Linked DNA regions of Homo sapiens: region 2 is linked to region 1. Evidence: promoter capture Hi-C in 16 types of primary human blood cells and fetal thymus (Javierre and others, 2016). All regions are on one chromosome and are shown on one strand. Each heading gives the region's core, a stretch centred on a gene start or on the middle of the fragment in contact. The rest is flanking DNA. Distances are from core to core; before and after follow the strand shown.

Region 1 (4,242 bases), core at 857-3,356:
GCTCCACGGCGCCCAGTCACTTCCACCACCCAAGGGCTGAGGAGTGCGGGCGCACGGCGCGGGACTGGCAGGCAGCTCCACCTGCAGCCCCGGTGCGGGATCCACTGGGTGAAGCCAGTTGGGCTCTTGAGTCTGGTAGGGACGTGTACAACTTTTATGTCTAGCTCAGGGATTGTAAATACACCAATCGGCACTCTGTATCTAGCTCAAGGTTTGCAAACACACCAATCAGCACCCTGTGTCTAGCTCAGGATTTGTGAATGCACCAATGGACACTCTGTATCTAGCTACTCTGGTGGGGACTTGGAGAACCTTTGTGTGGACACTCTGTATCTAGCTAATCTGGTGGGGAGGTGGAGAACCTTTTGTCTAGCTCAGGGATTGTAAATGCACCAATCAGCGCCCTGTCAAAACAGACCACTCGGCTCTACCAATCAGCAGGATGCGGGTGGGGCCAGATAAGAGAATAAAAGCAGGCTGCCCGAGCCAGCAGTGGCAACCCGCTCGGGTCCCTTTCCACACTGTGGAAGCTTTGTTCTTTTGCTCTTTTCAATAAATCTTAGTACTGCTCACTCTTTGGGTCCACACTGCTTTTATGAGCTGTAACACTCACCGCGAAGGTCTGCAGCTTCACTCCGGAGCCAGCGAGACCACTAACCCACCAGAAGGAAGAAACTCCGGACGCATCCGAACATCAGAAGGAAGAAACTCCAGACGCGCCACCTTAAGAGCTGTAGCATTCACCGCGAGGGTCCGCGGCTTCATTCTTGAAGTCAGTGAGACCAAGAACCCACCAATTCCGGACACAATGCTAATGATCTCAGTGCTCTGAAAGCCAGTAATTCTTAAATTGCCAAGAAAGGCACTCTGTTCTCTGTGGAAGGGGGAGTAAAGCCCCTTCCTGAGCAACCTAAGATACAATTCTTGGCTAATCATCCCCTTTATACTCAGAGCAGTTTCTTTACCCATGACCTTCTGGCTTTTTTTTTTCCTCTCTACCCTGTCTAACCCTACCTATGGGATATGAGAAAACAAAACAGAATGACAAAAATAAGTCTCCAGGAACTGATGATGGTAAGGTGCTATTGGGTCTGTCCTAAATAATTTTGTTTCCCCCTTCTAGAAACCAATGCAGACATGCACATGCACATTACATCCCCCACGTCTTTTCTGGCACACACCACACAGAAGCACATACACTTTATGCACAAAGACATCTTCATCTCCTAGCACTTCAGGGGACATTCCCATACAAGGCTGAATTCACTTGGGGTTGAGCCAGCACCACGCCTATTCCATGTATGTTTCTGCAAAAGAAATGGACGAAGGAGTACATAAGCAATCACAGCTCAACAGTCAGATATAGTAATACTATGCATGGAGTTGGAGCAATAGCGTGGCATAAAGTGAAGTGCATGGACCCTGGTGCCAGCCTGACCTGGATTCAAATCTCACCCTGGTCACATTTACTAACTGGGTGGTCTTGGGCAGATCACTTAAGCACTCTGAACTTGTTTTCAATTCTATAAATACCATCTCTTTGGAGGGCTGTAAAAATTAAAAATAGCACATGCGCAGTGCCTGTACCTAGAAAGTGCTCAATAAATGAAAGCTGCTGTTACTACATTGGTGTTGGAAGCTCGGGATGCCACTTGTGAAGGGGGCACAGAAGAAAGGTCAGACTGCCACCATACCCTGAGGGCTCATCTAGTATAGTTCCCTCATTTTATGGTTGAGGACACTGAAGCCAGAGATAGGAAGAGACTTGGTCAAGGTCACACAGCAAATCAGTAACAGAGCCAGGCCAAGATTCCAAGTGTTTCTGGAAAGGTTCAGCCCAATGCTCTTTTCTGCAGCCCCTATTGTCCTCTGATATGACAATGTGTACTCCTGTTCTGCCCCTGGGGATTGTCCACTCAATGGGTGGGCACGAGAAAGAGCAGATGAGGTGTTTGTGGTAAAGCCTAAGCCAGTGCAGCCATCCCCGTCGCCATGGCAACCCCAGCGCGGTTGGGGAGGACCCGCTCCTCCGGCGCCCCCTCCCATTCACGCAGCGGACGTGACACGTGCGGCGGGGTCACGTGTTGTTGTTGGGCCGGGAAAGCTGCTTCCGGGTCAATGCAGGACACTGGGCTCCGGCGGCCAGAGTGGGGGACTAGGTGAAGCGGCGCCGGGCCGGGGCTGGCCGGGACCAGGCCCGAGGCTGAGCGGCGGCGACAGCGGTGGCCGGGAGGGGGGAGGAGAGGCGCAGCCAGAGGAGCCGCCGCAGTAGCTCCCCCGCCTCCCGGGCTGAGGGGTGAGTGGAGCCGGGCCCGCTGGCTCTGCCGGGCTCTCGAGGCCCGAGGCGTTCCCCTCTGGAGCCGAGGCGCGGAGGGTCGCTCCTGCAGGGTGCTGGGATAGGACACTCGGGGAAGGGTGAAAGCCACATGGGGCCTGTCTCGAGCAGCTGTGGGGATGGGAGACCTGCCCTGGGGCTAGAGGGAGGATGGGGCCTGCCTGGCCTGGGCTATGGCGGAGCTGGGAGGGTCTTGGGCTGGGCTGGGCTGGGCTGGGCTGGGGGACTGGTCCCGGGTTGGAGGAGGGCGTGTTGGGGAGCCTGCCCGGGTTCCTGGGAGAATCTAGGCGTCTCACCTTGCCCCAGCGTGGGGGATGGGTAGATGCCTCCCAGCTGTTAGAAGAGGGAGACGTGTCTGGGACTGCTGGGGAAATAGGAAACTTGTCTCTGAACTACTGAATCCCAGAAAAGAGGACATGTCCCCAGGGAGGTTTGCTGGGGGAAGGACGGGCATGTCTAGGCCCTTGGGACATTAGGCCTGCTCTTACCAGGGGCTGATAAAAGGATGTGGATGTGGTAATTGAATAAGGGCTTTTGGGAGAAAAGATTTGCCCCAAGGTTGGGAGACTGAGAACGAGGGTGTTGGACTGACAGGCGGGTGCCTTGTCGTGGGATCTTGGGGGAAGTAAGGATCTGTGTGGAGCTTCTCTGTTGAGTTCTAGGTCCGCTAGTAGGAAGACATTCTGGGAATTGGTGAAGAGAGGAGATTTAATAGTCTTTTCTTGGGACACAGTGATTCCAGAAGTTGTAGTTGAGGAAAGTTGGTTGGAAGTGTTGAACTGTATACAGTCAGTGGAGAAAGGAGGAGCTCTACTGTGAAGGTTGCTAGGCTACAAAGAGCTTGTAGGCAACGCCTAGGGCTGTTGAGAGAAGTTGGTAATGCTTTCAAGTCCAAATACAGGCTGAGCTGGGGCTTGTCCCTTGTTCATGTCATGCTGCTGTGGAGCTCTTACGTTTCCAGTAGTCTATCTTGAGCAAAGAGTATGAATAGGTGCTGAGGACTAAGGAAAACATTCACTCTTTGGGTCCTGAGATGCATTAGACCCAGATCTCTAGGGTGGTAGCTTTCAAACTTAAAAAAAAAAAAATTATGCCCCACAGTAATAAGTATGTCTTACATTCAGATCTAGTACATACGTAGGTATGAAGGGAAACTTTCACAAAGCAGTATTTACCCTTATTATATGTGATATGTTCTGCTAATTTCTATTATATTCCACCCTCTTGCATTAAAAAAAATGCTGGCTGACATTTACTAAATTGATGATTTGTGGGTCACAACTTGCAGTTTGAAAAACACTGTTTCTGAAGCACATTTATTTGGTGTCAATCAGTGTCCTCATTCTGTAAGCTTCTAAAGAGCAGGGATGATTCTAAGGAGATGGATTTTTTTTTTTTTTATTTTATTTTGGCCGGGGGAGAGGGAGGAGGGCAGCTAGGTGCAATTGATTGCTTCGGTTTAGATGTTTATACCACGTAGCATATTTGACCTGTGTTTTCTGAAGGACCATAATCTTGATCTTTAATATCTTGATGTTGCCTGATCATTTGATTGATGAAATTTTTTGTATGCGTGTGTGTTTTAGTTTCCTTTATCCTTTGCTGTGTCTGAGAAATATGAGAGGCCTAGTTCCACTTAGTTGCTTTATCACAACATAGTTAAAGAAATTTTATTTTACTGTTCCAATGTTGTGAAGATACACTGATTTTCTTTTCTGCTATTTAAAAACATCCCAAATTCTTCTTACTGCAGTAATTATTATGATATACTTTTTGCTACATGATGAAAAATATATGAAAAATACACGATAAAATATATACCAAAGCCATAGACATATTTAAAAGCCTTACAGTCTACGGCTTTGGTATATAAACTTAATCATAAACCTAAGTATAACTTTCAATCA
Region 2 (4,242 bases), core at 782-3,281, 690 kb before region 1:
GTAGGAAGCATCAGTCCATTCCATGGCCACTGGTAATCTAACGTAATGAATGGTGTCTTTTGTTGTTGTTGTTGTTGTTGTTGTTGTTTGAGACAGAGTCTTGCTCTGTCGCCCAGGCTGGAGTGCAGTGGTGTGATCTCAACTCACTGCAACCTCCGCCTTCTGTGTTCAAGTGATTCTCCTGCCTCAGCCTCCCGAGTAGCTGGGACTACAGGCGTGTGCCACCATGCCTGGCTACTTTTTGTATTTTTAGTAGAGACGGGGTTTCACCATGTTGGCCAGGCTGGTCTTGAACTCCTGACTTCATGACCCACCCGCCTCGGCCTCCCAAAGTGCTGGGATTACAGGTGTGAGCCACCGTGCCCAGCCATGAGCGGTCTTGAAAATGAAAAATGGTCTTGGCCACAGAAACCAGGTATGAGGGAGTGGTTGGAATGGTATAAAGTCATCACTGTTAGGGAAACAGTAACTTTAAATGCATGTTAACAGTGGGTCTTTAAAAATGAATGTCATTTGGTTAAAGAGTTTTGCTGGGCATTGAGATAATCTGACAGCATCTCCACTTCCTGTTTTTTTTCTTAATCTCCACTTTTTTTTTTTCTATGATGAGCGCCCCTAAAATGCTGGTAAGCTTCTTTCCAACAAAATTGCGGTCAAAGTAGGATGCTGGGGAATGCTGATTTTAGCAAAAGCTTGTAGAAAAGAGTGGCCTGGCACATGAGCTTAAAAAAAAGAAAAAAAGCTGGCTCTTGAATTTTGGCACAGTGCAACCTGTTCCATACCAGACAAATGAACAGGCTTAATCTGGTACCAATTCTTTTTCTCTCTTACTCCTCAGAAGTGAAGGGACTGCAGATCTTGTTGTTTTGGGGACACTTTCATGGAACTGTATGTAGGTTTTTTTGAATGGTGAGAAATCTGAATAATTGGTAAGGGGAAGGGAATCCCTCATTTCAGCTTTTCTTGATGTTGTTACTAATAACTATGAAAAAACTTCTGAGAGAACAATGTGAACTGAAGATGACTCAGCAGTTAAGACAATGCTAAGTTCTGAAACCACAGGTAAATGAAGGGCTAATTAATGTGTGGTATACTTGGACAAAATGAAGTACTCATTTGCACTGGATTACTGTGTAATGATAACGAACACTGTTCAAGAACGATTTATATTTCCATAAGATTTGTACTAAATTTTATAAAAGTAAAACAACTTTTTATAAACCCAGAGTCTGTCTTTATATTTATGTGGTGGTTTTGCCAAGAAGTTAAAAAAAGCCTTTTGACCTGTAGAAATGTTGACCTGTATTCATACTTACTAGTGAATATCTCTAATCTGCTGTTCATTATCCATCATTCCCCCTATTTTTTTTTATTTTGGGGGGTAACAGTTGACATACACAAAACAGTTTGCCAAAAGAGAGAGGAAGAACCTTAATGTGTTTCTTGTTCTGCCACCTGTTTGGACACTTGTCTTGAAAATGTTGATGTCAAGTGAGTTGACATCAGAGACATCATCTGAAGACAGCTGGAGGCCCTGTCTTGAGGACTGTACTACCAATGCCTAAAACAGTCTGGGATGCATAGTAGATACTTAGTAAGCATGTTGAAAGAATGGACAAGAGGATGAGAATGTGGTTTAGAATCATCCCCATTGGAAAACCTCCTCAAAGGTTTTCCCAGTGGATTGGGTCATCAATGTCATTTTTCTAAGTAAAGTACTACGGACCCTGAGGAGTGTGTTCTACCCAGACTGGCTTGACTTTCTGAAGGCATCCTATAGTTACAGCCTTTAGAACAGTTGAGCTATCGGCAGCTTTAAAGAGGCTTTCAGTTTTTTTTTTTTTTAAATCATTAATGCTTTGTAGGTGACTATAGAGATTTTCATCATTTAAAAAAATTAGTTCTGGAATGAATAACCACTGGCTTAATTCAATCTTTTGCTTACCATCTTCTGAAGCTTTCCCACAGCAAAATGCCTTCTTTGCTCACAGCTAGAACCGTGGGTCTGTTTAAGTTTGGAAAGATCTTGAAAGCAGCTTGCCAAGAGGTTTTGTATGCAAGGAAGAGAAGGTGAATTAGGAAACTTTCCCAGTTTGTTTTATTCCTGAAGCTTAAGTATTGAGGCTTCCCTCAAGTATTAAGGGAAGAGAGGAACTCCAAAATGCATGATTTGATGAGTCATTGGGTTCAATTAATTTTATACTTACACTGTAACATTATTAGGATAGGGGAAAATAAGATATTTAGTACTTTTAAGAAAGATTTATTAAGTTTGGGGATAAGGTTTGCATTTTGGTCAGTATATATATGTATATATGTGTGTATATATATGTGTATATATATGTATATATATGTGTATATATGTATATATGTGTGTATATGTGTATATGTGTGTGTGTGTGTATATATATATATATATATATATATATATATATATATATGAATGGGATTCCTTCCGGTTGCATGTAAACACTCAATTTAAGAGTCTTCAGGGTAGAATTGTCATGCTAGAATACACCAGCAGGTGGCAATGTGTCCTGGTCTCATCATTAGGGAAGTGCCTTGGCTAATCTGCTTCTATTCTTTCCAAAAATAAACATTACAAAATTAGTTGGCTGTGCCTTGAACCTAAAAAATCGAGCAATAAAGAGTCGTCTCTGGTCTCTGTTTATCTTTTCCTTTTTTTCCCCCCCGTTCTAACTAACGTCAGCGTGAGCTCATGCCTCTATTCGGGGATAATGATCCTTTCATGAACTGTTGCGGAATGACTTTTTGCAACAGCATTGTTAAGAGGTAATTGTTTCCTCTCTCCACATCCACTGTTTATTAGATTTGATTTGCTACTTGGATTCCACAAAATGGCTGAAATCCCTTGTCACCAACATAGGTTTAAGCTCAAAAGTCTGAAAATAGTTGGATAAAGGGAATAGCCACTTTGGATGTTTGCAGGCAGAACTGAAGAACTGTATTACATGTGGTACCTAAATTGCCAAAATACTGAATTATTCAATCATAAAACTAGATGGGTATCTAAAGCTCTCTACCCAGTAGGGGAAAAAACCGAAAAACCGTTTGGGAATCCTTCAGAGAGAACCGTAATGCTATTTACTGGATAAATATACTTCATTTTCTTCTCCCAGTTCTTTCCACAACACGCTTGTTAAGTCGCCATGGAAAGCACCATGCTTTATCAATTTGGCAAATAACACATTTCATTTTGCCAAGGCAGAAACAGCCTAAAAGTAATATTTATACCGAGAAACCCTGGCTGCAGTCCCCAGCTGCTCTCCCGCAGCCCTGCGCCTCCGGCTCATGCAGCGCTCTCCCCCCGGAGCCGGCAGGTGCCCAGGTGAGCGGGGCCTGCGGAGGCAGCGAGGGGCGCCGGCCGGGAACCGGCAGAACGCGTGCAGCCAGAAGACAGGAGAGATAATACATTCCCTTAAGTAATAAAAGTTTCCAGGACAAGGGGGGCTGGTAATTTTCAAAGAGCCTCCCGGCACGATGTCCTCGGGATCTGGGGGGCGCTCTCGGGCGGTCTCTGGTGAAAGTCGACTTAGTACAAACTGGACTCGAAGGGGCATGTCTCGGCACTCAGGGGCCCAGGCGCCGCGGGAGGTGGGTGGGCCTCCCGGGGCTGCACGGGTCCCACCTCCCTCTGCCCCGTAGGACTACTTTGCCGCTCTCCCAAACCGGGCTCCGGCGGAGGCGTCCGTTCAAGGGCGAGAGCGCGGCCCTGAGCGGCGGAGGGATCCCGGGTGAGGCGGCTTCCCGAAGTCAGAGGGGAGGGGGCCATAAAGTCGGCGGGGGACGGGAAGCGCGAGCTCGCGCCGGACGCGGCCAGGGCCGGGAAACCAGAACCGGAACCGGAACCCGCGCGCGCGCCCGCGGTTGCGCGGCCCCCACGGCCGCCGGCCTCCTCCGCTGTCTGCGCGCGCGCCCGCGAGGGCCTCCAGAACCCGGCGAGCCGGCCCTGCGCCGGGAGACGCCGCCGCCTCCGCCTCCCGGACCAGGGCTTCCAGGCCGGGCCGGACGGGCATCTCCCGCCCCTCGCGGGGAGCGTCGGGGAGGAGCCGCCGCCTCTGGCGATTGCGGAAGAGTCCGGGCCTCAAAGGGATGGGGAGCAGTCCGCGGCGCTGAGAGACCCGGGTCCCTGTCACCTCGGGCCGCGGGACCTCTCCGCCGGCGCCAGCGGCTCGTCCCAGCACCGGGAGCCTGGTGAGGGCGGCGAGCACAGAAGGAGCC

Evidence for each region. Contacts are between HindIII fragments. The CHiCAGO score rates a contact against its expected background, and 5 or more counts as called.
Region 2: a contact is called between a fragment that was not itself captured here and the fragment with the promoter of TBCEL in region 1, in 1 of 17 cell types (total CD4 T cells). The highest score is 5.2, in total CD4 T cells.

The regions. Positions count from the first base shown.
Region 1 is chr11:121,021,996-121,026,237 of GRCh38, forward strand. TBCEL (tubulin folding cofactor E like) reads left to right here and starts at 2,107. Exons shown (of 9, transcript NM_001363644.2): 1 at 2,107-2,296. It overlaps TBCEL-TECTA (TBCEL-TECTA readthrough), which reads left to right and starts at 2,107. Exons shown (of 30, transcript NM_001378761.1): 1 at 2,107-2,296. RefSeq lists silencers at 1,921-2,070, 2,091-2,360. The HindIII fragment of the contact is 3,156 bases long and covers 529-3,684 here.
Region 2 is chr11:120,332,462-120,336,703 of GRCh38, forward strand. TLCD5 (TLC domain containing 5) reads left to right here. Exons shown (of 3, transcript NM_001198671.2): 3 at 1-1,225. ARHGEF12 (Rho guanine nucleotide exchange factor 12) reads left to right here and starts at 3,952. Exons shown (of 41, transcript NM_015313.3): 1 at 3,952-4,242. RefSeq lists a silencer at 3,539-4,242. The HindIII fragment of the contact is 153 bases long and covers 1,956-2,108 here.